Regions from separate parts of the Homo sapiens genome. Here all the other regions are linked to region 5. The links are contacts of gene promoters, found by promoter capture Hi-C in blood cells and fetal thymus (Javierre and others, 2016). All regions are on one chromosome and are shown on one strand. Each heading gives the region's core, a stretch centred on a gene start or on the middle of the fragment in contact. The rest is flanking DNA. Distances are from core to core; before and after follow the strand shown.

The links. The method cuts DNA at HindIII sites, captures the fragments that hold promoters and counts their contacts. A CHiCAGO score of 5 or more calls a contact.
Region 1: a fragment that was not itself captured here is called in contact with the fragment with the promoter of LPP-AS2 in region 5 in 17 of 17 cell types (neutrophils, activated CD4 T cells, megakaryocytes and 14 more); the score reaches 21.0 in neutrophils.
Region 2: a contact is called between a fragment that was not itself captured here and the fragment with the promoter of LPP-AS2 in region 5, in 1 of 17 cell types (total B cells). The highest score is 5.5, in total B cells.
Region 3: a contact is called between a fragment that was not itself captured here and the fragment with the promoter of LPP-AS2 in region 5, in 1 of 17 cell types (M0 macrophages). The highest score is 5.7, in M0 macrophages.
Region 4: a fragment that was not itself captured here is called in contact with the fragment with the promoter of LPP-AS2 in region 5 in 1 of 17 cell types (naive B cells); the score reaches 5.5 in naive B cells.
Region 6: a fragment that was not itself captured here is called in contact with the fragment with the promoter of LPP-AS2 in region 5 in 5 of 17 cell types (neutrophils, activated CD4 T cells, fetal thymus and 2 more); the score reaches 9.8 in neutrophils.
Region 7: a fragment that was not itself captured here is called in contact with the fragment with the promoter of LPP-AS2 in region 5 in 1 of 17 cell types (neutrophils); the score reaches 5.7 in neutrophils.

The regions. Positions count from the first base shown.
Region 1 is chr3:187,752,090-187,756,160 of GRCh38, forward strand. No RefSeq gene overlaps it. Among named protein-coding and RNA genes, the nearest start is that of BCL6, 8.7 kb to the left of the region's middle. The HindIII fragment of the contact is 8,209 bases long and covers 1-4,071 here.
Region 2 is chr3:188,574,747-188,578,540 of GRCh38, forward strand. All of the region lies in intron 6 of LPP (LIM domain containing preferred translocation partner in lipoma), which reads left to right. Among named protein-coding and RNA genes, the nearest start is that of LPP-AS1, 8.0 kb to the left of the region's middle. The HindIII fragment of the contact is 3,134 bases long and covers 479-3,612 here.
Region 3 is chr3:188,507,061-188,510,753 of GRCh38, forward strand. All of the region lies in intron 5 of LPP (LIM domain containing preferred translocation partner in lipoma), which reads left to right. Among named protein-coding and RNA genes, the nearest start is that of LPP-AS1, 60 kb to the right of the region's middle. The HindIII fragment of the contact is 2,839 bases long and covers 297-3,135 here.
Region 4 is chr3:188,644,603-188,648,712 of GRCh38, forward strand. The region is part of intron 7 of LPP (LIM domain containing preferred translocation partner in lipoma); the gene reads left to right. It overlaps LOC124906316 (a long non-coding RNA gene), which reads right to left and starts at 1,702. Exons shown (of 5, transcript XR_007096213.1): 1 at 1,473-1,702; 2 at 762-878. The HindIII fragment of the contact is 728 bases long and covers 2,206-2,933 here.
Region 5 is chr3:188,152,716-188,156,349 of GRCh38, forward strand. LPP-AS2 (LPP antisense RNA 2) reads right to left here and starts at 1,373. Exons shown (of 1, transcript NR_036497.1): 1 at 1-1,373. LPP (LIM domain containing preferred translocation partner in lipoma) reads left to right here and starts at 1,442. Exons shown (of 12, transcript NM_001375462.1): 1 at 1,442-1,537. RefSeq lists enhancers at 1-877, 2,677-3,575 and a silencer at 1,310-1,649. The HindIII fragment of the contact is 6,292 bases long and covers 247-3,634 here.
Region 6 is chr3:187,733,269-187,736,819 of GRCh38, forward strand. It overlaps BCL6 (BCL6 transcription repressor), which reads right to left. Exons shown (of 10, transcript NM_001706.5): 2 at 1,601-1,639; 3 at 265-435. The coding sequence starts at 425. Among named protein-coding and RNA genes, the nearest start is that of BCL6-AS1, 8.6 kb to the right of the region's middle. The HindIII fragment of the contact is 8,715 bases long and covers 1-3,551 here.
Region 7 is chr3:187,711,776-187,715,642 of GRCh38, forward strand. LOC100131635 (hCG1645011-like) reads left to right here. Exons shown (of 3, transcript NR_034062.1): 2 at 3,847-3,867. It also overlaps a transcript of RTP2 not described here. Among named protein-coding and RNA genes, the nearest start is that of RTP2, 11 kb to the left of the region's middle. The HindIII fragment of the contact is 3,458 bases long and covers 41-3,498 here.

The DNA.
Region 1 (4,071 bases), core at 723-3,222, 400 kb before region 5:
AAGATCACTTGAGACCAGGGATTCAAGACCAGCTTGGGCAACGTAGACCCTGTCTCTAAAAAAACGGAAGAAAAAAAAAATAGCCAGGCATGATGGCACATACTTGTAGTGCTAGCCACTTGGGAGGCTGAGGCAGGAGGATTTCTTGAACCCAGGAATTTGAGGCTGCAGTGAGCTATGATGGCACCACTCCAGCCTGGGCCACAGAGTAAGACCCTGTCTCAAAATAAAGAAAGAAATAAATAAATAAAATTAGACTTTTGATATTATCTCCACTGAGGCTATACATCTCTCTTTCAATCCTAACAGGACTGAAAGAAGATGACCATCATATGCAAGTTTTGTGTGTGGGATCCAGTGTAGGACCACAGGCTCCTATGACACCATGATTGAATGTTGTTAATAATCTATAATTGTTTTATGAATAGTGCAATTGTATTGTAGTTGTGTGGGTGCTGGTGTTAAAAATATAAGGTTTGAAATATATTTGTCGTAGCAACAAGCACACCTGGTGCTCAGAGCTCAGTTTTGTTTTGTTTTTGTGTTTGTTTTTGTTTTTGACACAGAGTCTCACTCTGTTGCCCAGGCTGGAGTGCAGTGGCGCGATCTCAGCCGACTGTAACCTCCGCCTCCCGGGTTCAAGCGATTCTCTTGCCTCAGCCTCCCGAGTAGCTGGGATTACAGCCCTGCACCACCACGCCCGGCTAGTTTTTGTATTTTCAGTAGAGACAGGGTTTCACCATGTTGGCCAGGCTGGTCTCAGTTTTAATGCCATTTCTCAGCAGCTGGAACCAAGGCTTCTTGGAGAAATTGTTGAGTTCTAAAACTGGGGCAGGAAATACACAAATGAGAATGAAAGATCTTGTAGCACCTTAAAGTAAGGAATTATTCAAAAACAAAACTACATTGGTGAGGGATATTTCAAAAAGACACAGGAGCCACTTGAAGAGCTCCCAGTGGCCAAAGCTGCAACAATTTGAGCAACAAAATAGAATAGTGTTTTACATTATAACCCAAAGTATAAAATAAATATTAATGAGTCCAGGGCTGGGTGCAGTGGCTTACACCTGTAATCCCAGCACTTTGGGAGGCCGAGGTGGGCAGATCACTTGAGGTCAGGAGTTCAAGACCAGCCTGGCCAACATGGTGAAACCCTGTCTCTACTAAAAATACAGAAATTAGCTGGGCATGGTGTCGTATGCCTGTAATCCCAGCTACTCGGGAGGCTGAGACAGGAGAATCCATTGAACCCGGGAGGCGGAGGTTCAGTGAGCCAAGATTGTGCCACTGCACTCCAGCCTGGGCAACAGAGTGAGGCTCCTTCTCAAAAAAAAAAAAAAAAAAAAAGTAATGAGTCCATACTATTATAAATAAATTATTAAGTAAATTAATAAACCAGAGAGAAAAGACAAACATCCCGTAATTCCAAATTTATTTATATAGATGTGCACAGGGATTCCAAATAATTTATAGACATGTGCCGGCCTTAAGGAGGAGAAACAGAAACCCACACTCTTTAATTGTGGGCTATAGATAGTAACTTCTTCCCGGGGAGTATATTCCGTATGGAAAGGTAGTCAGGGGAAAATAGCTTAGGAGAAGCCTGACAAACACTCTCTTAGCCAGGGGATTAAGACCAACATCAACAATGATAAATCATCTTGATAGTATATACTCTTGATAGGATGTGGTGAAAATTGTTCTTTCTCTCTGTGGTCCTGCTCTCATAATACTAGTCTAATCATAAGAAAAACATCAGACAAATTCTAGTAGAGGGGCGTCCTACAAAAAACCAGTAATCCTCAAGCCCATCAAGGTCATCAGAAACAAGGAAAGTCTGAGAAATTGTCACAGGCAAGGATTAGCCTAAGGAGACATGACAACTTAATATAATGTCGAATCTTAGATGGAATAATTGGCCACAAAAAGACATAAGATCAACCTAGACAAATCTGAATCAATGATGAACTTTAGTGAATAATAATGTACCGATATTGTTTCACTGTTACACGTGTACCATATAATGTATTATGTTAATCATAGGGGAAACTGGGCACAGGGTTATTCTCTGTACCATCTGCTCAATTTTTCTGTGAATTGAAACATGTTCTTAAAAATTAAGTCTATTACCTGGAGGAGATATCTATATCTCTATATATCATATAGAGATATAGATAGATATCTATAGATATCTATAGAGGTATAGATAGATACGTATATCATATAGAGATGTTATATATATATATATATATATATATATATATATATATATATATACAGCTGGAGGATATATATATATAATTTTCAATACCAGAAACCTCCAAAAAGTGACCCAGATCTCTCCTGAAATCTGGGAGATCCTGCTTCTCACTCATTTTCCTAGAATAGAGTCAGAGAAATGGGGCACCTCATTTATTCTTTTAGTTTACTAATTTACTCCATTTCTGTATGCCACCATCTGCATAACCATCAGGAGAATACTAGAGAGGCACCAAAGGCCAAATGTTGTTGTTGGGGTAGATGGCTCAAGCCACTTCGTGGACCCCCATATTCAAAATTTCTCTGTGGAAACCCACTAAGGAAACAGTGCTCTCAAAGATCTTGTCATCAGTTTATATGGGGCATGCAGAACTTAGAGATTCATTCATGAAGTTGGGGGAGCCCCAAGAGATTCCAAGAGTGTCTGCTATTTCATTGCACAACTCCAATAGAACTGTGGATCTCATCAGAGTTATGAGTCTCGGTGTCTACAGAGGAGAAGCTCCTATCAGACCCCTTAACCCTATGAGTTTGTCTGCATTATCTGAGTACAACCCAATTCTCTAAATTCTGAAAGCATCTATCTTCATCTTTCGGCTTACCAGTTCTACAGTTGAGAAAGGTCCAGAGAGGAAAGCAATTTGCAAACACCACTTAGCAAATTGGTGGCAGAGCTGATTCCCATCACCAGTTCACCCCGAATCATTTATTTTGTTGCAGTATCCACTTTGGTAAACTGAGGCCTGTTATTGTATTGATGTACATTATGACTTCAAAGATGCTTTTTTAATTTCTAACCAATTGTCAGTTATCAATGGCTTTTACTTCTAATGCTGCACTTGAGTTTTAAGTGTCTCTTCTCTTCTTCCCTTCATGTTTTCTGACATCTATTGGCCTCTCTGCCAAGTAGTTATAAGATCTTTGAACTAACACTTATATTCACTGTGAAAGCCAACATTTAAATAACTCTTGGTGAAGTGCAGTGAGACTAGGTCCTACTGTGTTGATTAGTATGACTTTTTCAGATATATTGGCCACATATACCAAGAATCATAAATATAAGCAGACCCTTTGACCCAGAGATTCCACTTCTAGGAATCTATCTTTAATGCATAATTCAACATACAGGAAAAATCAGTGAATGAGTATATGCATCCTAGCGCTGTATTCTAACAACAAAAAATTTGAACAACCTACATGTCCTATCATGACTAGGCTGGAAGAAAGAATGTTGGATGAAGAATGATTAAGTAAATTACAATACAACTAATTTCGAAAAATTAGAATTGAAAGATACTTATGGTAATATGTAAAGTGGAAAGAAGTAGAATATGTATATAGAGATATATGCATATTATATATCTATATAATATTTGTATACAGTATATTCACAGCAATTTTTAAAAATATATTCTTTGTAGAAAATAGACTGGATGTAAATAATAGTACACAATTGACAAAAATATTTACAGTAGCTCTCTTACAGTAGTAGGATTATGAACGCTTTTCTCGGCTTTATTCTTTTTTTATCTTCCAAAATGCTTAATATCTATTATCTATCTATCGATCTGTCTATCTATCTATCTATCTATCTATCTATCCCACAAACACACACTCAAGAAATAAAAAGCCGTAATTGAAGCCTTTTAAATGCAAACAATTAGTCCCGTTATTCACAGGTTTGAATATCTGACTTAAAGTTGAAGCCACCTACATGTTTAGGGACTACAGCAAAAGTCGAAAGTATCCACACACGCTTGGAGAAGACCTTTCACTTTAGGAGACATTTGTCTCCATGCCAACAAAATGTCA
Region 2 (3,794 bases), core at 796-3,295, 420 kb after region 5:
TAACATGATGGATTTTACAGCTGAAGCTTATACTCATTCATCTTCAGATATCTTTTCTAATAGAAATAAAGACAATAAAAGTGATACCCTCCTCCTGAAATTTACACATTAAAGACCCCTTCAAACTGCTCACTTTTTTTCTGTCTTTTTTTTCATTCAGAGGCAAAATTTCCCCCTTTTTTTCATCACTGTTACGTTTGCGGCAGATGAGTCTCTTCCTTGAGGGGAATCGTGGTAAATGGGCCTGCTGTATTTACAGCTATGAAACATTCCAGTTGGCTGTCACACCCTAAGCAAGGAAGGTTTCCCCATCCTTAATTTGCGGCCTGAAAAGCTGTGGCTCTCCTCAATTAAGACTTTCCAAATTGCCTCTGACATGGCAGCATATTCCCAGGAGTCAGGTCCTGGGAGGCAGTAATAACATGAGCACTGCTGTATAACAACGTAGTTTTACAAGCCATTTTGTGCTCTTTTCAGAAGCTTTCAGGATGCTTTTTCTCTGAAGTTGTAAATTAAAAAGAAAACAAAACTTATTTTGATTTTTTGTTTTTAGTTTTCCTAGTCTCTGAATGTCTAGGTTTAGGGACATCTGTCATAGTCTTATTTATTTATTTTACGTTTAGTCTGGATTTAAAATGTACAAATTAATGTTTAAGTTCTCTGTTTTATTCCTGTAACAATCCTACAAGAACAGGTTCCATTATTGTGTTCATCTTGCAGATGAGGAAACAAGGCCTAGAGAAGTTAAATATTTTTTTCTGAAATGGTACAGCTAGTACGTGGCAGGGCTCAGATTTTGGATCCGGTCCACCTTAACTAAATATGCTTTTGATGTAGCTCTCTTCAGGCTGAATTCTTGACCTCTCATTTGATGCTGACTCTTCTCAAACCCTTAGTCTTTGTGCTACTAGGTAGATTTTATCTGTGGCAAGAACACGGTTACCCTGGAAACCCACTAGCTAGAATGGCAAGCCAATTATAGCACCACCGCTTTTTTTAAATTAAATTAGCGCTGCTGATGACGTGGACTTCTTGATTGAAGCATGCTGAGAAATGGGTTCTCACCAGTTGTTCCTGCCTCTTAGGATCATGTGGGATCATTCTCATCTATTCTATCAAGCCAAACAAGAAAATGCCTCTATGTGATTGACTGGATTTGAGGAATAAAATGTGATGATCTTTTAGGACCCTGAGCTTTCAGTAGTGAGTAGACATGCATGGAAATGTTTGGAAAGAAGCCCTATTGGAGAAGAAGCCTGTCATCTGGATACTTTCCACCCCCAAGCACACAAGGTCCACTGATTTAAAGCCCTGCTCTTAACTACTGAGGCTAATGTTCTCTATTTTAGTATTTCTTATTTTATTTAAGGCCATTGGTTTAAATCCAGACTTGATTCAGGAAAGGTCGTAGCCCTTTGATATTCTTTGGTCTTTGCACACTTCTAATAGGGCAGGAATTTGCTTTAGTTCAAACCAATTGGTGCATTTCCTTTAAGTACACAGAATTTAAACAATTGAATTGATATGGCCACTGTTGAACTGAGTGGTACCAGGTTGGAGGAAAGGACATTCATTATATGTTAGTGGGTTGTGGGCTCACTCTCTGAGATGGTAAACGGTAGGCTGGTAGAATGTTGAGTGGTTCATTCTGCATAACACACATGGCGCCAGGCACATTACCTAGTACCTCTATGATTTTCATCCGCTTTATTTTCTGTTTTGTAGAGTAGGTAAAGGTAAGGAGACGGGCTTGCTCATTTGCAAGGCTATTCTGTGATGCAGGGTTCTGAGTACAGGATTCCTTATTTGCAGTCCAGTGCTCTTCACTTTATACCACCAAGTCACCAGAGTCTCAGGGCCTGTCTTCTGTATCGCAGAAAACAAATCAAGGATTAGCAACACTGAATCTTAATTCTTGAAGTTCTAACAGGAAAATTATGTTAGTCTTGCTACATATCGTAGGCATATTTTGTCCAAAATGAGAGTAATCAGGGAGGAGAAGAGGCTGCATCTTACTGTGTCCTGATGGGTGATACTTCCGTGACTATCTCCATCACCAGTGAGCAGATTTCCAGAAGTCACAGTTCAAAACGATGAAGAGAATTACACATTTTCAGAAAACATTGTACATTCTTTGTTAACTTTTCCACTTGTAAAATAATTTGTTTTCAGACATCCAGGTCCTTTCTCCATGATTTACTGCGTTGGTGACATTAATCAGCGTGGTTATCTTGGAGCCTCATTTCCCCTTGGGTAAAATGGAAGGATAACATTGGCAATCATACAGACGTGTTGTGTAGAAAGGAGTAAGAAGCATTTTGGAAGTGGCAAAGTGGCAATAATCCCCTGTAAGACAGTAGCTGTTTTTAAGATCACTGAGCTCTCAAACACTGGCTTTTTCTGCCTCACACTTTCTAGATTTGTAAGACTTAATCTGAAAATATCTTTGCTATTCATTATGTATAATTGTAGGGCTTTGGATTTAAAAAATCCTAATTCTGTTATTTCCCTGACAATAACAAATTATTCTCATCTAATTTTCTCTTATGTGAAATAAGACATACACCCTAGTTACTTCCATGCCTAATATGATTGACAAATCTATATGTTATCTGAATTGTGAATATATTTTCATACATATAGAAGTACATGTGTGTATTTCTTGAAATCTAATGGTCAATATACACTAACCAGTTATTTCTGGGATTTTGGGAACAGGCTTCTTTCTATACTTCTCTACTTATCTTTAAATTTTCTCTAATGAGCCTACTTTGCTTTTGTTTTACATACAGTAATTAATATATTTATAAATGTATGTATACTATATATTTTAATAAATTTATATAAGTATATGTATGTATATACATATGTTTTGCAAGTAAAAAAACTTTAGTAATAAATATCTACAAAGGCAAATTAAAAACTATTACATTTTTTCTCCCTCCCTTCCTTTCTACTGTTTCCCTCCTCTCCTCTCTTTGGTTTCCTTCCTTCCTTTGTTCCTTCGTTCCTTCGTTCCTTCCTTCCTTCCTTCTGTCCTTCCCTTCCCTCCCTCCCTCCTTCCTCCCCTCCCCTCCCCTTCCTTCTTCTTTCTTGCCCTTTCTCTCTCTCTCTTTTCCTCTCCCCCTTCTGTCTTCCTCTCCCCACCTCCATCTCCCTCTCTCTCTCCTCCCTCCCTGCCGCCTTCCTTCTTTCCAGAAAGTCACTAACCAGAATCTTTCACAGAATAAACTGTGAAACCTAGATCTTAAATGTACTACAGTAGAAAAAGAGATGAGATTTTTGAAAGATGATGGCTTGTCCTTGTCTCTGTACTTGAATCTATCTCAAAACAAAGATATAACTATTGTTTTTAATAATAATTTCAATATAGAGTGACCATCCTTGCCTACTACCCTGAAGAGAGAGAGCATTTACACATAAGACTGGTGGTTGCAGTAAACCCCTTTCAAGTGGAGTGGCCACTATGGTCCTTCCTCTTCCCTTCCTTCCTTTCATTCCCTTGCCCTTTCCCCACTTTCCTTCTCTTCCTTTCCTTTTTTCTTTTAAGGTTCATAAAATCTTGATTGGCCTCCTTCCTAGCAGCCAGGAGTTTGGGTCCCTAATAGCTAAAGCTTATATACTTTATTTTCTTCTTTCTCCAGATGGCTGTGGCTATGAATTTTACTCCCCATCCCAGGACTACCCCTGCTATACTGACACTAATTTTCATTTTATAATACTGTCTTCATCAGTCCATGCTATGCTACTAGTTTTAGTTATTATAATATTAACTTAATCCACAATGAAGGCGA
Region 3 (3,693 bases), core at 466-2,965, 350 kb after region 5:
TGCTGGGATTACAGGCATGAGCCACCACGCCCGGCCCATAACCTTTATTTTATTGCGAGAAGATAGAATAGCTACTTGATTGATATTTGTGGCTTGATTGATCTATTCTTTCTTCGACTGTGCAATAGGAATTCTCTGGGAAAGGACTATGAAGTCTGTATACTTATCACCCTTTTGATGCTTTTGGGGTTGTTGTAAGCATGCAAAGGGTTCATTGTGCACTGCTTCTGTATACTGACTCAGGGTGGTGGGGAGAGGAAATGGGAGAGGAAGTTATATACATCTTGAGCAAATCAAGCTTTTCTATTTTTAGTCCTTGCTACTGTTTGGAAAGTACAGCCTCTGTTCATGGCAGTCTGGCATGTGTTTCCTTAGTGCCATTTCGAAAGGGGGAAAAAATAAATATGGGAATTTTTTTTTTTTGTAGTGAAAATAGTTACTCAGTGAAATCACATAAGTTTCCCGTTTTTCTCTTGATGAAACCTCAAACCCACTAGGCACAGATTCCTCAACCTCAACTATGCATGTGAAAGGCTCATGCAGAACAGGAGACCAGAGTCAGCAAAACCTTGTATAGCAAGATAAGCTGTGGTGCCCCAGAGAAGCGCGGATGGGTGGCGGAGGTGGGGAAGGCAGGGAAGGGAATGGTGATGTTCTTTCATATTTAGTGGGGAACTTGGCCAACTACCAGATCGTTGCCCCCTGGAAAAGGCTGAAACCTGAACTAAGATAAAGAGACACATAGCTTTGCAGCTTTTTGCTTAAGCTGTTCCTTTTGCTTCAGTTTCTGTCCTTGGTAAAAGTTTCCCTGACTGCTTTATAGCTACTCCCCCAATTCAAATAAATAATTTTTCTTTAATAGTTGTGATGGCATTTGGGAGATTTTTCCAATCTAAGGCTATATCATTAGGACACGATAAAGAGCCTTTTATGCTAGTAAATAAAATGATTTGATCTGTATTTAGATGGATTGCTATAACATAGTGGTACTCAAGTGATCAGAAATGGTGATGACAGAGTGTCTTGGAGTCACCTTCAGGGGTCCATTGAGGCAGACAAGGACCTTAACCAAGGTGGTGGCCATGACCATGGAGAAGGGGAACAAGAATCAAAAGCAATTTGGAAAGAGGGGGCTTATGGGAAAGAGAAGAGTCCAGGATGCTTGGCAGGATTGTGACTTTCTTCAGGGAGAATACATATCCTTCCTGTCCTAGTATGTGGCAAATGGAAGAATCCTTTGGAAAAAAATGAGGACTTTGAAGCAGGTGTGATGTGAATGTTACTAGAGGAAATGTTGATACCAATGAGCAAATATTGCCCTTTGTTAATGAAAGGGACTATACAGTCTCCAGACATAAACAGCTCTGCCTAGACAAAATTGTAGCAGTAGGGTGAGAATAATGCATTGCTATAATTAATGCTAATTTGTGGATATTGCTGTATTGTTGTCATTGTTTTTTAATTGAATATGTATTAAGCTCCAACAGGGTGCTATGAATAATGCCAACTTATAGTTGATTTATGAGAACACTCAGAAGACTTTATTAACACCAGTAAATGGAAACTCGCACTCCTTCGAGGTGGTAAACGTCTTTGCCATTTCGACAGATGAGGAGAAGTGAAGTAGATTGTGTTTTCTCTGTTGGCACTGCGGGTGAGAACACAGAAACTGTCGAATGAGAGAAAAGTATTTTCCTTGTCCCCTGGAATTGGGTTAGAATACATTAGTAAAGAATTCTTTAATGTGTTCAGAGTTGTGGGATTTTAATTAAATTGTTCCAGTTATTGTTAGCACTTGGATTAGCAACTGGCAACCAAATTCTAGGCCAGCAGATTTCAAATTTAGCATGGACAAGAATTGGGGTGAGGCCGATGGGTTTGTTAAATGCCAATTATTAGGCCCTGCCTTCAAAGGTTTAGATTTGGTAAATCTAGGAGGGGGCTTAGGAAAATCTTATGTTCATGGATATCGAAGGTGCTTCTGTCCTCAAAGGTTGCTAGCTTCCTTTCAAAACTCCAGTATTTTCTTATTTTAGGACGTATCTTTGGCCACCAAAATCTAGCTTCACCTGAGACCAAGGGCTTTTTATTTAATAGCTGCAAATTCTCTTATAACACACCAAGTATAATCCTGTAATCCTCTTTTATACACAACATACCACCAGAAAACATGTGCAGAAGACTTACCGTATGCTTAGCATTCTAGTGGACACATGATTTCTACTACCTTATTTCACCTGGTCTCCAAAATATCCCTGTGGGGTTGGTATTATTGCTCCCTTATTTCATAAGAAGACACTAAAACTAAGAGTATACGACTTGGTCAAACATCACATCCAGTTTAATCCTTTCTATCTTAACCTGGTTAGGCATATATTTTACTTTAAGTTTGAACAACAGGTGGGATTCTTTTTGGCACTGACAGAGTTTGCAGTTGACAGTAGAGACTGTAAACTCGGCTTAAGTGGACCCGTCCCATAAAGAAAAACATTCACATTGGAACAAGGGAGAGGTGAAAAGGAAAGTTGGAAGTGAGTAATTCAACTTTTCATTTTTTTTTGTCCCCTTCCTTCCTTCCTTCCTTCCTTCCTTCCTTCCTTCCTTCCTTCCTTCCTTCCTTCCTTCCTCTCTCTCTCTCTTTTCTTTTTTTTTTTTTGAGTCTCACTCTGTCGCCCAGGCTGGAGTGCAATGGCATGATCTCGGCTCACTGCAAACTCCGCCTCCTGGGTTCAAGCGATTCTCCTGTTTCAGCTTCCCAAGTAGCTGGGATTACAGTTGTGTGCCACCATGCCTGGCTAATTTTTTTTTTGTTGTTTTTTTTTTTTTTTTTGCATCTTTAGTAGAGATGGGGTTTCACCATGTTGGCCAGGCTGGTCTCAAACTTCTGACCTTGTGATCCGCCTGCCTTGGCCTCCCAAAGTGCTGGGATTAGAGGCGTGAGCCACTGCACCGGGCCTGTCTCATTTCTTTAATACGAGGTACTAAACTGTCACTGAGTAAATAGTAGACATTTGATTATTATTTGACTCTGAATATTTTTTGAAAAAAGGAACATTTCATAAGAAAGCCTGAAATGAGACATGAGCAGAATTCTGGGGTATAGAAATGATTTTTAAGTTGAGACAAGAATAGTGAAGCTTGAGACGACATTATTCCTTGCCTCCTTTAGACTTTCTTCAGCCTCCACCTAGCAAAGTAAAAGTCTTGTCATAGCAGTCTGTTGCATTGTATTCCCTGGGTCTAAGGCAGAAATGTGTACGTGCTCCAATAACCCTTGTTTGTTGTGCTGTGGAATCACGTTCATTTCTGATTAAGGTGAAATCAGTAGCTTTCTGATACGGTCTCTCACTCACTTTTTATCAATGGCAACCTTTTTCCTAAAAATAGGAATTTCTGCTGGGAGTGTTTTAATATAAATTGTCTGTGCTCAGCCTGAAATATGTGTGATTCATACCATGTGTTTGTTCCCACATCAACACTAAGTCCCAAGATACAATTACCCCTGCCCACTCTCTCCTTCGTCATGGGGAATGTGTTTATCCTTTAGATATCAGCACCTTGGGTAAGAGCCAATCTCCTTATATGCCTTGGTTTGCACACCTGCATTGTCTGACCACAGCTGACCCTTTGAGTCTGCTCTTACTCTATTTTTACCTTAAAGAACACTCGTGTTTGCCAAGTACACTTGCACAT
Region 4 (4,110 bases), core at 1,320-3,819, 490 kb after region 5:
TTATTTATTCCAAGCTTTAAAAAAAAAGTACTAAAATAAAATTGTGTGATTGAGCATTGCAAAAGAGTGGGTTTTTATAATGTGGAAGCCAAAATTTTTTATCAGAAAAGAAAAGAGAAAAAAGAATCTATGCTGAGAGGAGATGGCCAACTACTACATAGATTTATTAACTCAACAAAAGGGTGACCAGTTCTTCCAAACCTGGTATTTGTTGGTCGTATCTATTACAAGGTAGCTGTGGCTTGGTGCAGGGTGCAGACAAGAGAGGGAACAGGAAGAAAGAGATTAGTGTAAACTGTGAAATCAGGCAAAGCTAGACTCAAATTTTGTCTCTGTTTTCTAGTAACTATGTGTGACCTTGAATTATTGAAGCTCTCTAAACTTCCACTTTCTTGTTTGCAAAATGGTACGATGGCATCTACATATAGAATTATAGTAAAGAGTAAATGAGAAATACATGTGAATACCTAGCCGCTTCTGGAAAATAGTATGTACTCAGTTACTGGTTATTTTTATTATCGTTGTAATTACTATTTCCAGTGATGTGATGCTTATTACCTTCCAAAGCAAGTACTTTTATATTTGAATAAGTGAAAGCTCTTTCCCATTATTTCTAAACCCTTGTCCTACTTCTCAGTTCTAGAACTTTTTTTTTTTTTCCTTAATGGAAGGAAAGAAATAAGGAAGGGTTGGAGAGAGAGAGAGAGGAAAAGCACCTTTGTTTGTATGCTTTCTTTAGATACGTTGAAGACAATACTCACAAATCTCTTCAGTCGTCTCTCCATTTGGATGGCCATCCTCAGTGCTTAAGCACTTCTTCATAAATATGATTTTCAGAAGCATCTGAAGCATCTGTATTCGGGGTCCTGTCCTCATCCCTGTTAAGAAATATAAGGCTCAAAATCAGATGTTGTTATGTGAGGTGTGGTCTCGTGCATGGAGTACAAGGTCACTTTTCATTAGGAGACAAATGCGCAGTAATACCTACAGTGTGGGAACGTGGATCCCTTCTCTTTAATATCAGTTTTGCCAGTGCCCTCCTTTGTAACCCAGAGTAGCTTCAGATAAACCTACTGAGCCCTTCTTTTCTTGTTCATAGGAAAATATTTTTAAAGGGATAGTGCATTTATAAGAAAATTTTTATATACTTCTTTTACCCTGAGAGGATTGCAAAGTTTGTCATGCCCTGATTGACAAATATAAGTTCAAAAAAAAAAACAGAAAATAAATTCCTTAAATAATTTATATCAGACAAATGGATCTGAATCTAAGCAAAATTTTCAGGAAAAAAAATGTTTATAATCATTAGGTAAAAGTAGAATTCTGACCTTATCTTTATATTTTCTTTATATTTTAAAGCTTTGCCTACATATTCCAAGACTTGGCTTTCAGTTTTCCTAAATCTAAACAGAGAAATAAATGAAATCATGTCTAAGATTTCTTCCGATTTTGACATTGTTATATGTCCTTACCTGTAAAATGAAGAAAATATTTTTTCTTTTTATCAGGGTTGTTGTTAGGAAGAAATGATATTATGGATATTGTGTTTCAGCCTGCTAGGGACAGATACTTTCATAGCTTCATTCATTCACCCTAGGGTAAAAGTATCAGTGTTTTCTTCTTTTTCCTTCAGGATTTATTCCTTAGTCAGGGAGTGACCAAGGATGGTCAGCCAGAACCTCAGCTGGTCACCTGGAGCATAATATGGTAAACAGAACCATACCCAAAGTTCTGTTTACGGAGGCAGTCCTGGCTACCAGTGAATGATCAGGAACCCTATAAGCTAGCCCCTGGAAGAACAATGATGCTGATTTTATCTGTAAAATAATTCTTTGCATACAAAGTACTATAAACTCAGTTGGTTCTCCCTGCATATTTTTGAATGATTGTAGGCAGAGTTTTTGTTATCTGTTTTACTAATGATGCAACTGAGGCCCGTAGGAGTCAGGTTGCCTATAAAGGCAAGGATGTGCATACAGAATTACCCAAAGCAAATTGGTATTTTGTGGGGCACAACCTCAAAACCACTGATATCTTGCTACATTTAAGTACAAAAAGCTCCTATATGCCACAGAATTAGAACATTACCAGATCTTAAATGTTCCTTAGAAATCACCTCAACTGATGCCCCACATTTGGCAGAAAGCCAAAAAGTTTCTCAGCTAGGAACAAAACACAAGTTCCCTTTCTATCACATGGTGCTGAAGCTTAGATGCATAAACCGAACAAATCATCAGGAAGCTATAAAAGGAACAAACAAATACAGTCTCTGGAATCATTGCAACCTCAATACACATCTCATTGCCACTTCCTGGACATTTGTGTCTAGCTAGGTTGCTTCCCCTGCCTGAGCCTTACTGTGAATATGTGCCAAGCAGAGTGTTGCTGTTAATTGAGCTAGATAACATGCCAGTGTCTGGCCTAGTTCTTGGCCCATAATAGGTATTCAACTAATATTTACTTCTTTTCATCCACTCACCCTTCTTCTTAACAGTTGGAACCCCTGTTTTGAACTGTTCACTTCTACTCTGGATTTCCCTGTGTAAGCTCACTTGCAGAAGAGGGTGGAGGTGAACACACTGCATTTCCCACCATCCAGCTCTGACCTGGGCCCACCCTGTGCAGGACTCTGCTGACTTTGGGATGCCAGCTGTGGTCCTCACACAGGGCTCACTGTATCCGGGGGCCTGGCTTGATCCGGTAAAGAGCGTCTGCTGCGGTGCCTGATGGAAAGTGCCCGCTTAATTGGGAGATAGGGCTTCATGAATGGATCTTTCATTAGTTGAAAAAAAAAAATATTTGCCTGCAAGGACTGTAAACAGAAGACTTGATTCACTTGTTCCTTTTCTCCTGCCCTCTCTTGGGTTTTGTTTGACTTAGCGTGTTTATACCTCAGGACACAGCTGGTACTAATGCCTTTCCAAGGTTAAGAAAGCTTTCCCTGCCATTCCCTATGGTCCCCTTTGTGTACTTTCAAGAGACAATAAAGGAGGTGTGGATGTGAGACAGAGAGTGCATTCACATTAGTCCTGGCTATTATGGGGACCTCAGAACAAGCATCACCTCCACCCTGTCTGCATGGATTTAAGAGAGAGCATCTGAGCACCTGAGCTTACCTCAAACACGTTCTTTGAAGAAGAGTCACTGCCGGTCATTTCTGTAATGTATCACAGCTGTCCTGACCTGATCCTTCTCTGCTCTATCGTGGCTACTTTAGCATATTTTTCTCAAAAAGTGTTCCTCTTTCATAATTAAAGGTGAGGGAAGACTGGATGAAAAAAGCTGTGGGATATGGTCAGCACATAAGGCCTGTGGTCAAAGATGGGTCTTCAGTTACATCGTTTGGTCTTACTAAGCCTCAATGTTCTCATTTGTAAATCTGGAATAATCATTAGACCTTTTTCACTCTGCTTGTTGTGAGGTTCAAACATGAGACTCAATGAAAAAGTACTTTTTGGACAATAGAACACTACATAAATAGGAAAATTTTAATGGAACCTTCCTCATATTCCATTAATATGTTGGTGCTCTGCATTATAGTAGTACTTTAGTTGACTTGAGCACATGATGTAGTTGACTTTAGATTAAACTTTCACTAAGTATTACTTAGAAAAAACGAGCCATCATGTGATTCTACAATCTTTATGGGCTACATAGGGATGGTGAATTCTTTTCACCACTAGCAAAGGCTCCTAAAGGATCATGCCTTACTCCCACTCCATAGATGAAGACCTTAGGCCCCTGGGAATCCATTGAGCTCACAGAGGTTTACATAATGCCAAATCAGGATGGGAAGTTAGATCCTGCTTAGTGCTCATAACTGGCTTATGAGGTTTCCATTTCAGACAATGAATACTCATCAAGGAGGATTGGTGGGGAACCATGAGCTGTTCATGTGTACTGCTGCACTCACGTCGTATCCAGACACCCAGATATCATCTCTGGCCCACTGCAGTAAGATCTCTGTCTTCTGTCCTGTTTGTCTCTCCTTCATTCATTCCTTCATTTGCTCTATCTAGCCTTCATACTTCTTGAATCACTTTGAGTATGGTACCCTTATTTTAAATAAATAGTACCCTCATTTGGGTATTTGTTTCCAGTGTTCCTGAG
Region 5 (3,634 bases), core at 123-2,622:
TTTAGATATTAATAGGAGAGAAGTGCAAGGAAAGGAAGTCTCAGGGTATGGAATGCTTTCCTGGCCATGGCTGCTGCGCGTCATAATCCCCTAACACAGTTAAGTGGTGGTTCTCATCGTCGTTCACCCTTACAGATGTCAGAGGGGAAAGAAAAATCCAACTCAAAACTTCCAATGACAGGCTTGTCTGTATTCAAACCAGTTCATCTCGTTCGCAGACTTTTTTGAAGCTATAAGCACAGAGCAAGCTTTCTGGGCGGGGCTCAGAAGTAAACGTTAAACTCCAGGGATTCATTTATTTGAGCACAGGACAGAGGAAGTTGCCCTGAAGCAACTGATTGTCATTGATATTCAGGGCTCGCTGTCAACCAGGACCTTCCAGGAACTGGCTCTGGGCCAAGAGCAGTAGAAATCACTGGGTGGTCCGCACAGCTCGCGGGCATCTAACCTGCTTCAAGGCTCAGGGCTAAAAGGGAGCCAGGGCCCTTCCTGGAGGCGGGAACCCAAGTGGGAGGCAGAGCGCCTGGGCCCGCTCCTCGATCTGCTGAGTGACGACCCTGTACAAGTCATTTCTCTTCCGAGAGCTTCAGTTTCCTCACGTGCCAAGCGGACGGGTTGGAAGTTGGTCTTTGCCAGCTCTGACACCTTGTAAGTTTTGAGTCTTGCTGGGAATCCAGGGCGGGGCTCACGAGGAAAATCTTGGAAGGGGATTTCATGGCTGGATCTCTTCCACTCAAGCTCAGTGCCCTAATTTGACGCCTTAATAGTAGACGCAGGCTTTTCCATTTTCCAGGAGCCCCCTGACGCGGCCGCTTCCTCCTACGTCTCCTTCCTCTTCCTCTAGCAGGGGCAAAGTCTCCACATCTCCCTCTTTCTCTTCCTCCTTTGCAAGCTCCCTGCATTCCCGCGTCTCCTCCTCTTCCTCCCAGGAAATGCAATGCCCTCAGTGCGCCCACCTTTTGGCAAAGCCACTGCCGGCTGCGGGTTTCCCCTCCCCCGCCAGGCGAGCTCTGCGCGGCGGCTTCGCGGGCACACGCCTTCCCATACCTTACATGGACAAATGCGTGCAGGCAAAGTCAGGAATTCAGGCCCCTGACGTCAGCCTCCAGCGCTCAGGGCACCGCACGGGAGACCAAGGGGAGGGGGTGGGGACGGTGGGGAGGAAGGAGGGGGAAAGGCACCAACCAGCAGCCGCTCCAGCCCTGCCGAAGTTTCACTTTTTGTCTGTGGGTTCGTTCCCGGGTCCCGCGCGAGCTTTCCCGGGATAAGTAGCTTTAGCGATCGGGAGACAGCCGGGCGCTGCAAGGTAAGGGCTGGCTGCACGGCCCGGGGCGCGGGGCGTGGGGCGCTGGGCGCGGGCGGCGCGCTCGAGGAGGCCAGTGTGGGGCGCGGGGCCGGGCCTGTCCGGGGCTGGGGACAATGGGAGGGGGAGTGCCCGGGCACCTCCTCCTCTGCCTCTGCCTCCGCCTCCAGCCGCCGCCGCCGCCGCCGCCGCCGCCACCACCACCGCCGCTGCCCCGGCTGCCTCCTCCCTGAGGTATTGTTGCAAATCCTTCCTTCCCCTCACCCTCCACCCGCGGGCGCCTCGGGAACCCCCAGCCCTCCCCCGGCGCGAGCGCCTCCGGGGTGGCAAGAGCGCAGGGCGCGCGCCCTGCTCTGGCCTGGCCCGCTGTGCGGAAGTGCCGGCCGCGGCCCAATCACGGGGTGCACGCCATGGGGGAGGGGGACCCAGAGTTTTTCCAAAAGCGTCGACCCCAGGCTAGGCGGGGTTGGAGCCTTGCGCGCCCCCTGCCCGGACTTTTCTGGGCGCCCAGGGGGCGGGGCCACGCCCATCCGCTTAGAGCTTTCGCGGAATCACAGTTGTCACAGCGGAAAGGGCCTAGACCCAGTCCTCCAAGTCCTCCCATTTTACAGTTGGGGCAGCTGAGGCCCAGAGAGAAGGAGGGTCGCCCGGAAGTTATTTACTAGAGGCCAGACCATAATTCAAATAGTTGGCTCCGGACTTAAGTTCCCTTTCTCTAAGCATTTCTCTAGCACCCTGTGTGTGGCAGACCCTGTGCTGGGTGTATTGGACGTTGCCCTCAAGGAACTCAGTTGAACCTGGGAGTCAAACCTGGCCTAGGGTAGAAAATGCTAAGTGCTGGAGCAAAGGCGTGGACAAAGTTAAAGGAAGTTCCAGGGAGGGGGTTTGATTTTCTGGTCCCTGGGACGGCCTTTTGGAGAGTCCTGCACTGAATGGGGTTTTTGGAGGTTGAGGAGTTTCCTGAAGCCAGCTAGCGGCTTGGAGGAAGACATCTCTTCGAGGGAACCGTGGGCCAGAGAAGACTAAGTAGTGTGGGAAATGGAGATGAAAGTATAAATATTCTTTAGTTGGAGGCAAGGGGTTGGGGATGGGGGAGGTTGTGATATGAGATGAGCTAATCAGTGGAATTGTGCCTGGGTGCTTGGACAGGGCAGAGTCTTTGGAACCTCGGAGTCGTAGGAGAACTGAAAAATCTCTCTGGCTTCCCTTCCCTTAGAAGGGATCCACTGCTTTCCCTCCCCCAACACAAAACAACTAGCGAGAACTCAGGGTCTTCTCTGGGGCTTTTGCTAGTACCAAACTCACTTAACTGTGTTTCCAGTCCCCTTTCTCTTTCCATTCCTTCCCCTTTTACTAAATCTCTTGCCTTTCCTGTAAAATTCACTCTCACTAAGGTGTTGATGACTTAATGGCTTACCTTTCCCTGCACATGTGCATTTTAAGAAAGCCTAAAGTGAAGAAGGGGAAAGTGTGGCTAGGCACCTTTACAAAGCATCTAGCTCCCTCTCCCATCCTCCCCCTTCCTCAACTCTTATAGATAGAAGAATAGGTAAAGGTCCACGAAGGTGGGTGCTAGACCTAGAGCCTATGGTCAATAATGGTGGACAGTGGGGGGTTAGGACATCCAATATGGTTTTCTCCACTTCGTCACCAGTTTTTCTGCTTGCACAGTTCCTGCCAGCACCAGGGGGCAGTTAAAGGAAAAAGTGTGTGGGCCAGGCACGGTGGCTCACGCCTGTAATCCCAGCACTTTGGGAGGCCAAGGCGGGCGGATTGCCTGAGCTCAGGAGTTAGAAACCAGCCTGGGCAACATGGCAAAACCCTGTCTCTACTAAAAATACAAAAAATTAGCTGGGTGTGGTGGCGGGGAACTGTAGTCCCAGCTACTCGGGAGGCTGAGGCAGGAGAATCGCTTGAACCCGGGAGGCAGAGGTTGCAGTGAGTTGAGATCACACCACTGCACTCTAGCCTGGGCGACAGAGGGAGACTGCCTCTCAAAAAAAACAAAAAACAACAACAACAAACAAAGGAGAGTGTGCATTTTTGCATTTAATTTCTACAATGCAGGCCCCAACCCCAACACCCAAAACTTTATAGTCTAGAATGTAGGCTCCAGAGGGGATTACCTATTCTGAATGGTAGGGGTAAAAGCCTGGGGCCTTAGGGTCTGGCAGTCCCCCCAGAGGCAGGCTCTCTGTAAGCAGCATGGGTCTAGAGTTGGTTTTGAGTGTACGCAGAGGGAGGAGAAGCTGAGCTGATGAGCTGATTGCTGTGGCTGGGACTTGAGTAGGATCTTTCTTAGAGTGACACATTCTGGTGAAGACAGTTCCA
Region 6 (3,551 bases), core at 720-3,219, 420 kb before region 5:
AAACACATCCTTTCTTGGGGCAGTATATAATTTTTCTCCCTCTATGCCCACAGAACGTGGCTCTTTCTTTTCTAAAAGTGCATTCATCCATTCATTCATTCATTCACTTGGGAGCCTACTGTGCCACGCCATGGTGCTGAGATCTGGAGACAAAGCGAGACGTCATCCCAGATGCAGTAAAAGGCCCACATGTTCTGCCTTGCTTGGCTGCCAGCACCATCACCCCACTTTGACTTACCCACCCTTTCCTTTCAGATCCCTCACCTGCAGGCCATGAGGACCGTTTTATGGGCTCTAAACTGCTCACGGCTCACAACAATGACAACATCAGTCAAGATGTCTCGACTCCGGAGACGATTAAGGTTGAGAAGAACATCACTGGCATGGCGGGTGAACTGGATACAGCTGTCAGCCGGCGAGGCCATTTTGTCTTCACTTGAAAAAAGAGGCCAAAATCCTGTTAGTCCTCCAGAACCTGTTTCCTGCTTGCCACAGGTATCAGAGCAGGTGGCTTAGCCTGCTAAGGTACAGAATGCAACTCAGGTCCCTTGTATTTGATCTTTGAACAATTCATAGTCCAACTCTGGCCATTATTCTTCATAGTTTTAAAATGGGGAGAATAACTTTTATCCAACAAGTTGGGATAGAAAGCCCTTTAGGGGAAAAGCAAAGGGAATGAATATTTGTTGAGTGTTTTTCCCACATACCAAATACTCTGCCAAGCACTGACAGGTAGTGAGTATGTTGCAATGGAGAGACACCGTGTTTTTTGTTTTTGTTTTTGTTTTTTGAGATGGAGTCTCACACTGTCACCCAGGCTGAAGTGCAATAGTGCAATCTCAGCTCACTGCAAGTCCGCCTTCCCAGGTTCAAGTGATTCTCCTGCCTCGGTCTCCCGAGTAGCTGGGATTACAGGTGCCTGCCACCATGCCCAGCTAATTTTTTTGTATTTTTAGTAGAGATAGTGTTTCACTATGTTGGCCAGGCTGGGTCTCAAACTCCTGACCTCGTGATCTGCCCAACTTGGCCTCCCAAAGTGCTGGGATTACAGGCATGAGCCACCGCGCCCAGTCAAGACACTGTGTTTTAAGATTATCAGGCTAGACTTGCCTTTTGCTAGCTGTGGGACTTTAAGCAGGTTGTTTACTGGTTTGGGGCTTTGGTTTCCCCAAATGGAAGTAGTAATACCTATGTGGTTATAAAAGTTAGAAATACATTCCTCGTTCATAGGAGGCTCTCAAAACTCATAGCTATTCTCATAGGTATCTTATTTCATCATCTCAGTCACCATTGGTCTCTCTCTACTGTTAGGCTTTAGAGTTGCTTGACTTTTGTACCTCGAGGAGCTAGCATATTGTTGGTGAACATTAGCTGGCTAAATTAGTTTGTACAAAGAAAGAGTAACAATGATTGACCATGCAAGTGGTAAGACAGTCTAATACAGAGGTGAAGGATGAGGACTAGGAGTGATGTAGAGGGAACTGGTTATCCTTGTCTCATATAATGAACAGTGGCAAAGTTCACAGAGACACATGTATTGGCAAATTCAAAAGAAACAGTTTGTCCCAACATTTTAAAGCATATAATTTTATTTACTTACCCAATGCCTTGCTTCACAGTCCAAAATTTTGCTCAAAACCTACAGAGAAGAGAAGAAAGCAAACAGAAATTGATTTAACGAATGTAAGATTGTCCACTATAGTCTTATTTTAGGACATACACATTTAGTTTTGCTTTGATAGTTGCAGCTTGCCAGCTGGTGTGGTTTTACCACAAGCTAACAAACATTTTCCAGCTCTGCTCTTACGGAAACAACAGGCACCCGAAGCTATGAGATAATAATGTTTTTATCCAGAGTACTGGGAGTACAATTGCATACATTAATTAGTTATACATACATACATACATATATTTCCTTCTTCAAAGAAAAAATTTATACTATCCAAAGGCCACTAGAGTTTATGGGAAAGAAAAAATAAGAAAAATGGTTCTGTCAACATTAACAATAACGATTCGTCCGTGGCCTAAAACCACTGGACGTCATTCAAAACCTGCTAAAATATTATCTTTCAAGCCTTAGAATGATTCCGCAAGGACGATAGGGCCAATATCTTTATCCTTATTTCACTGGCGATGAAACTGAGACTTAGGGGTTCAAGTGGCTTGCTCAAGACAAACAGCTAGGCAGTATTTCCTGCCCATCTGAAACATTAAGACTGAATATAGACTCTGCAGAACACAGCCTGAGATGTCATGTCTACGTATTCCTTGAAAACCTTTGTCTTCTTTTTCAAAGTGTTCTCTCCCTTCCCTACTGGGTCTAAGACCAGACAGAATGCCATTGCTTCTAAGTTTGTGCTTCTCCCTGCTGGTAAAAGACTTAACTATGTGATTTAGCTGAGAACTGGCCAGGGAGCACTAAACCTTGAAGAGATTTAATGAAATATGTACCTCCTTCCAAACCGGCTTCTCTAAAACAAAATCATTAAAAGCACAGGTGTAAGACCCTCATTTATGATCAAATGTGGGCTGCAAAATAAAACAATATTTGAACTGTCTTCCCCCCTTTAAAAAAAAAAAAGCAGAACCTTTTAGAGCTATTTTCTGGGTAAAGAGGCCTGAGGCCAACAAGGTCATGTTGGGCCATGTACATGGTTGGTGACCCGGCCCTAGGTCTTCTGGCTCAAATTCCTGTCCCCTTTCCAAATCAGCCTACGTGCTGTAGAACATGCAAGACAGCACCCTGATGTGGGTGAATCTCATTTTTAAGTTCCTTCCCCCACACAAACACTTTGCCCCATTCCAGGCTGCTGAGTCTTACCAAATGAGCACTCTAAAATGAGAGGTTTCCTTGAGTCTGTAACCAAACACTCTGACATTTCTCTGTGGTCCCAAGTGCCAGTCACTCAATCCCATCGGCTCCAAGGTTAGTGTGTGCATGTGAGTGAGTGGGGACTGGAGGGAAGGAAGTGGGGAAGGGAGAAGACAGAAAAAGACAAAAGAACCTATCTCCTCCTCTCCCCAGCCCAACTCGAGATAGGCAAAGAGAGATAGACTAACTCGGTCTTTACCAAACTTCAAGGATTTTCTCCTTTGCAAAAGAAAGCTGAAGACACATGGGAGTGGGAGGTTTACTTAAAAACTTTCCTCTCTTCCTTCATGGAAGGGATCCTCAAACACTTCTGGAATACCTAGGCTGTTCTTTAACCAGCTTCAACCACCAGCTCGCTTGTGGATTTCCAGTCGCAGGCTTCTGGAACCACAGGAAGCCCAGATTTGCCATTTCACCATGACAAGTGGCAATGACTCACTCCAGATGCGGATTGAAACAAACAAACAAATTCCCCTGTGTCCACTGTCAGCTGGGCCTTGGGCTTTTCACCGTAAGCCTCTGCCTGGCCAAAAACAAATGTACATACACGAGGCGCAGGTCCTTCTCAAGTTCACTCCTTTGCAAGCCAACTCGTCTTAAGAACCAGCCCCCCCCAACTCCTGAGTGTGTGGGTTGAGTGTGGGCAATGTTGTCACCACCCCCACCCCAAATGCCGCAG
Region 7 (3,867 bases), core at 520-3,019, 440 kb before region 5:
AAAAGAGATGATTACAGTGGGTTCCGAAGAGGATCAAATAAGCTTATACTTGCACAGAACCAAAAACAGTTCTTGGCACATAGTGAGTGCTCAGTAAATGTTATTTAATATTATTTTTCTACTTATATATTCCATTTATAGAACATTCTCAAAAAGACAAAATTATAGAGGTGGAGAACAGATCAGCGGTTGCCAGAGGTTAGAGATGAAGGGAGGGAAACAGGATGACGATAAAAGGGTAGCACAAATGGTCTTCGAGATGATGGAACTGCTGTATATCTTGGTTGTGGTGGTGGCCATGTGAATCTACACATACAACAAAATTGCATAGAAACACACACACACACATACGCACATACACATACACACGAGTGCATGTAAAACGATGTAAGTCTGAATAAGGTCTGTGGATTATACCCACTGAGTCAACTTCCTGGCTTGGATATTGTGCTATCGTTAGGTAAGACCTTACCATTGAGGGAAACTTGCAGAAGGGTACACAGGACCTCTCTGCACTATTTTTTGTAACTTTTTGTGAGTCCATAATTATTTAAAAATTTAAAAAACTTTTAAATGCTCCTAGTATATGGTGAATGTCTAATAAATGTTATTTATTATGTTTTGTCATAGCTGTTTTTCAAGTTTTTATGTATATTTAACATATTTTAACTTTGAAATTAAATTCAGAACAATAGATACTATTTTTAAAAAGACAAAGTGTGTCTCAGCAAAGTTCCATATTGTTACATGTAGAGGAACTTTGAGCCCCTTGTGAGCTGAAAAATGGCTTAGAATTTCTGATAACTAGTGTCTTTTTGTTAGCCCCTTTTGAATTGTGAAAATATCAGGAGGCATGAATAAGAAAACTCTAAGTCCTGAGTCCATGCATGTTCGTCTCCTGGATGCAGGAAAACTTGGGAACAATAGATGAGAAAGGGCTGGACCCGAGGAATTAGAACTCTGCGGTCTCAACGAATGGTTTATATTCCCAGAACACCCCTAGTGAGAGCAATCTCCTACCTCCATCACTCAGTTACTTTGACCAGAAAAGTCCTTGTCACTGTTTCCAAAAGGGGTCCTGAAGATTATCCTATACAGTCTTTGCATTTGCAATCAGAAGCTGGGGCTGAGGGACGGTAAGTTTCCTGACCAAGGCCAGTAGCTGGTCAACAGCAGAGCCTGGTCTTCAATCAAGGCGAAAGCTGTTTGCTCTGGGTCTCACTGTGGCAGGGCCCAGGACAGCAGGGATTTGATGCTGTCTCCCACCCAAAACCACCCAGAGTCATTGAGTGTAATCAGGAGACCAGTGCTTAAGGGGCACCTCCTCAGGCCCTCAGCACTGAAGGGGAGCAGGGAGGAGATTGAGATGTACCCAGCCCACAGCCTAGGCACCAGCCGTCCAGGGACACGGGCCTACACTGTGATGCAGGTGGTGGGCGCCATGGCATGTCCCAGTGGCTTCCTCTCTGTCTACTCCCAGAATTTACAATTTTGACCCTAAGAGAATACCAACCCTAAAAGCCTAAATTTTCTCCTTACACTGTTGTGAGTTGAAAAAGCTGTGCTCAAGGGTACACAAATGTTACCAGTGGAAGGTGTCCAGGTTCTTGGCATTTTGAACAAAGAATTGGACAAAATGCACAAACAAAGCTATGAAAGAATAAAGCAAAGAGAGCATAGATTTATTGAAACGAAAGTATACTCCACAGACTGGCAGTGGGCTTGAGCAAGCACCCCAAGAACGCTGGTTACAGAATCTTCTGGGCTTTAGATACCCTCTAGAGGCTTCCCATTGATTACTTGGTTCACACCCTATGTAAATGAAGTAGTGGCTCACAACCAATCTGATTGGACATGGAAGGTGACCAATCAGAGGCTAACATGAAGTTACAAAGTTACACCCTATGCAAGTGAAGACTAGGCCTACAATCAGTCTGATTGGTTGCAGGAGGGGACCAATCAGAGGTACTTTCATTTTTAATTTGCAAGGCAGAAAAGCAGGAGGGGTGGGGGGAGCAAGTTGCAAAGGGAGTAGCCTCGGATCCTTTTGTTACTTGGGTGTGGAGAGATGGGGTTTTCCTTTTTATTCAGTTCTAGGAAACCAGTGCAAATTGGCCTTAGGTTCTCTGTCTCCAGACCCTATTCTCCTGCCTCACAAAGATAGGTGTACCTTTTTGTTAATTCAACCACTGACACACAAAGTTACTGCCTGTGCTAGCTGAGTGTCTGACAGCAAGTCAGAAGGCAAATGGTCTGTTCTCGGCCCTCACCCGCTAGCCAGGTGTTCTTAGGCTCTCCTCTCCGAACCTCAGTTTTGTCACTTGCCAAATGGGATATCTTGCTTCCTTAACTGGCGAGATTGTGGTGAGGATTAAGTGAACCCTTGGAGATGAAAGGCTTTTGTGATTTGTAAAGTTTGTTATACTAGACACTAGATTAGTGTCATATCATAAACCCCTGCCTCTCTCCACAGTTCTACTAGGAATTGGCCTCTTTTGCCCAAGAATTGAGATATAACCCCTTACCTTTTCGAGAAGAGCTGGAAATTCCTGATCCCCAAAGGAATGATTCAGAGTGGAACTTTACACACATTCAAGTAGATCTCCGAAAGAAAGATTTGGGGGCCAGAGCCCCTCAGTCAGTTCTGTTAAATGGCTCTGCTGAGATGACGAAGAGGATTTAGAAAGAGAATAGGTACAAAGCCATAGGAGACCAACTCAAAAAATAGCACTGGCCCCATTTATACCTTCCTGCTTCCCTGGAGCCAGAAAAAGTGGCACCTACAGCCTTCACTGCTTGGTCTACCCTGCCACCTTGTGGCTATTTGCTAGAATGCACCAGTAGAACAGCCTCAGAGAAAGCAGGGACCAGTAGGAACCCTTAATCATGCACTCACTCCTTTGCTCCGTCACTCAACAAACCTGTACAGACGCTCACAGTTGTTCAGGCTGAAGAAATTCACAGGCTGGAAGAAGAGAGGGACTGAAGGGAGGGTAAATGGAGAAAAGAGACTTGCTAGGCAGGGGTCTTGGTGTTTGCAAAGACACTGAAGCCTCACAGGTTTGGGAAATGGTGAGCTTCTCCATGTGACTGAAGAATAGGGTGCACCAGGTAGAAATGATGGGAGATAGATTATAGCCTCACTATTAGAAAATGATATGTATGAAACTGTAAGCCTCTGTACGTTAGGAAAAAAAAAACACAAACAAACAAAAAACAAAGAAAGACACAACTTGGTCCCTGGAGTGCAGGGCAATTCAGGTTACAGGTTACAGGTTACAGGTTACAACCCTCCGCAAATGGCCCCCAGACTTCCATGGCCCTGCTGTCCTGAGACTCCTAGGAGGAAACACTTACTCTGAATCCCTCGCCATGATTAAAATCAGTTTCTAAATGGGGTAGGATCTTGTGTAATCTCAAGTTTGAAAGGGACCTTAGAGTCATTTAATCCAACCCTCCCTGCAAGCCAAGATTGCTGCCAACTCACCACACATCTTAAGCTTAAATCACCTTCAGTGATGAGTTCAGATGCTCACCCAAAGCCCGTTCCATCTTTAGACACAGGAAATCCTTTATTCTATCAAGCTGAGTTCTTCCTCTTTATAATTCCTGTTCATTGATATAAGGTTCCCCCCGCCAGGGTTCTGTCAAAGAAGTAATCAGATACATGAATGTATATGAAGAAGGTAACCATTTAGTGGCAGCACTGAGGTTTCTGGAAATAGGAAATCATGGTAGTATTATTTCCGAGGAACTAATACTGGCATAGGCCTTGGGGGAGCTGTGTCCTAGTCCTTATAGAATTTCTTTGCTTAATGTCACTTGGCTTCCTTTCCTTTATGATAGAGTTGGATTCGATCAGAATTC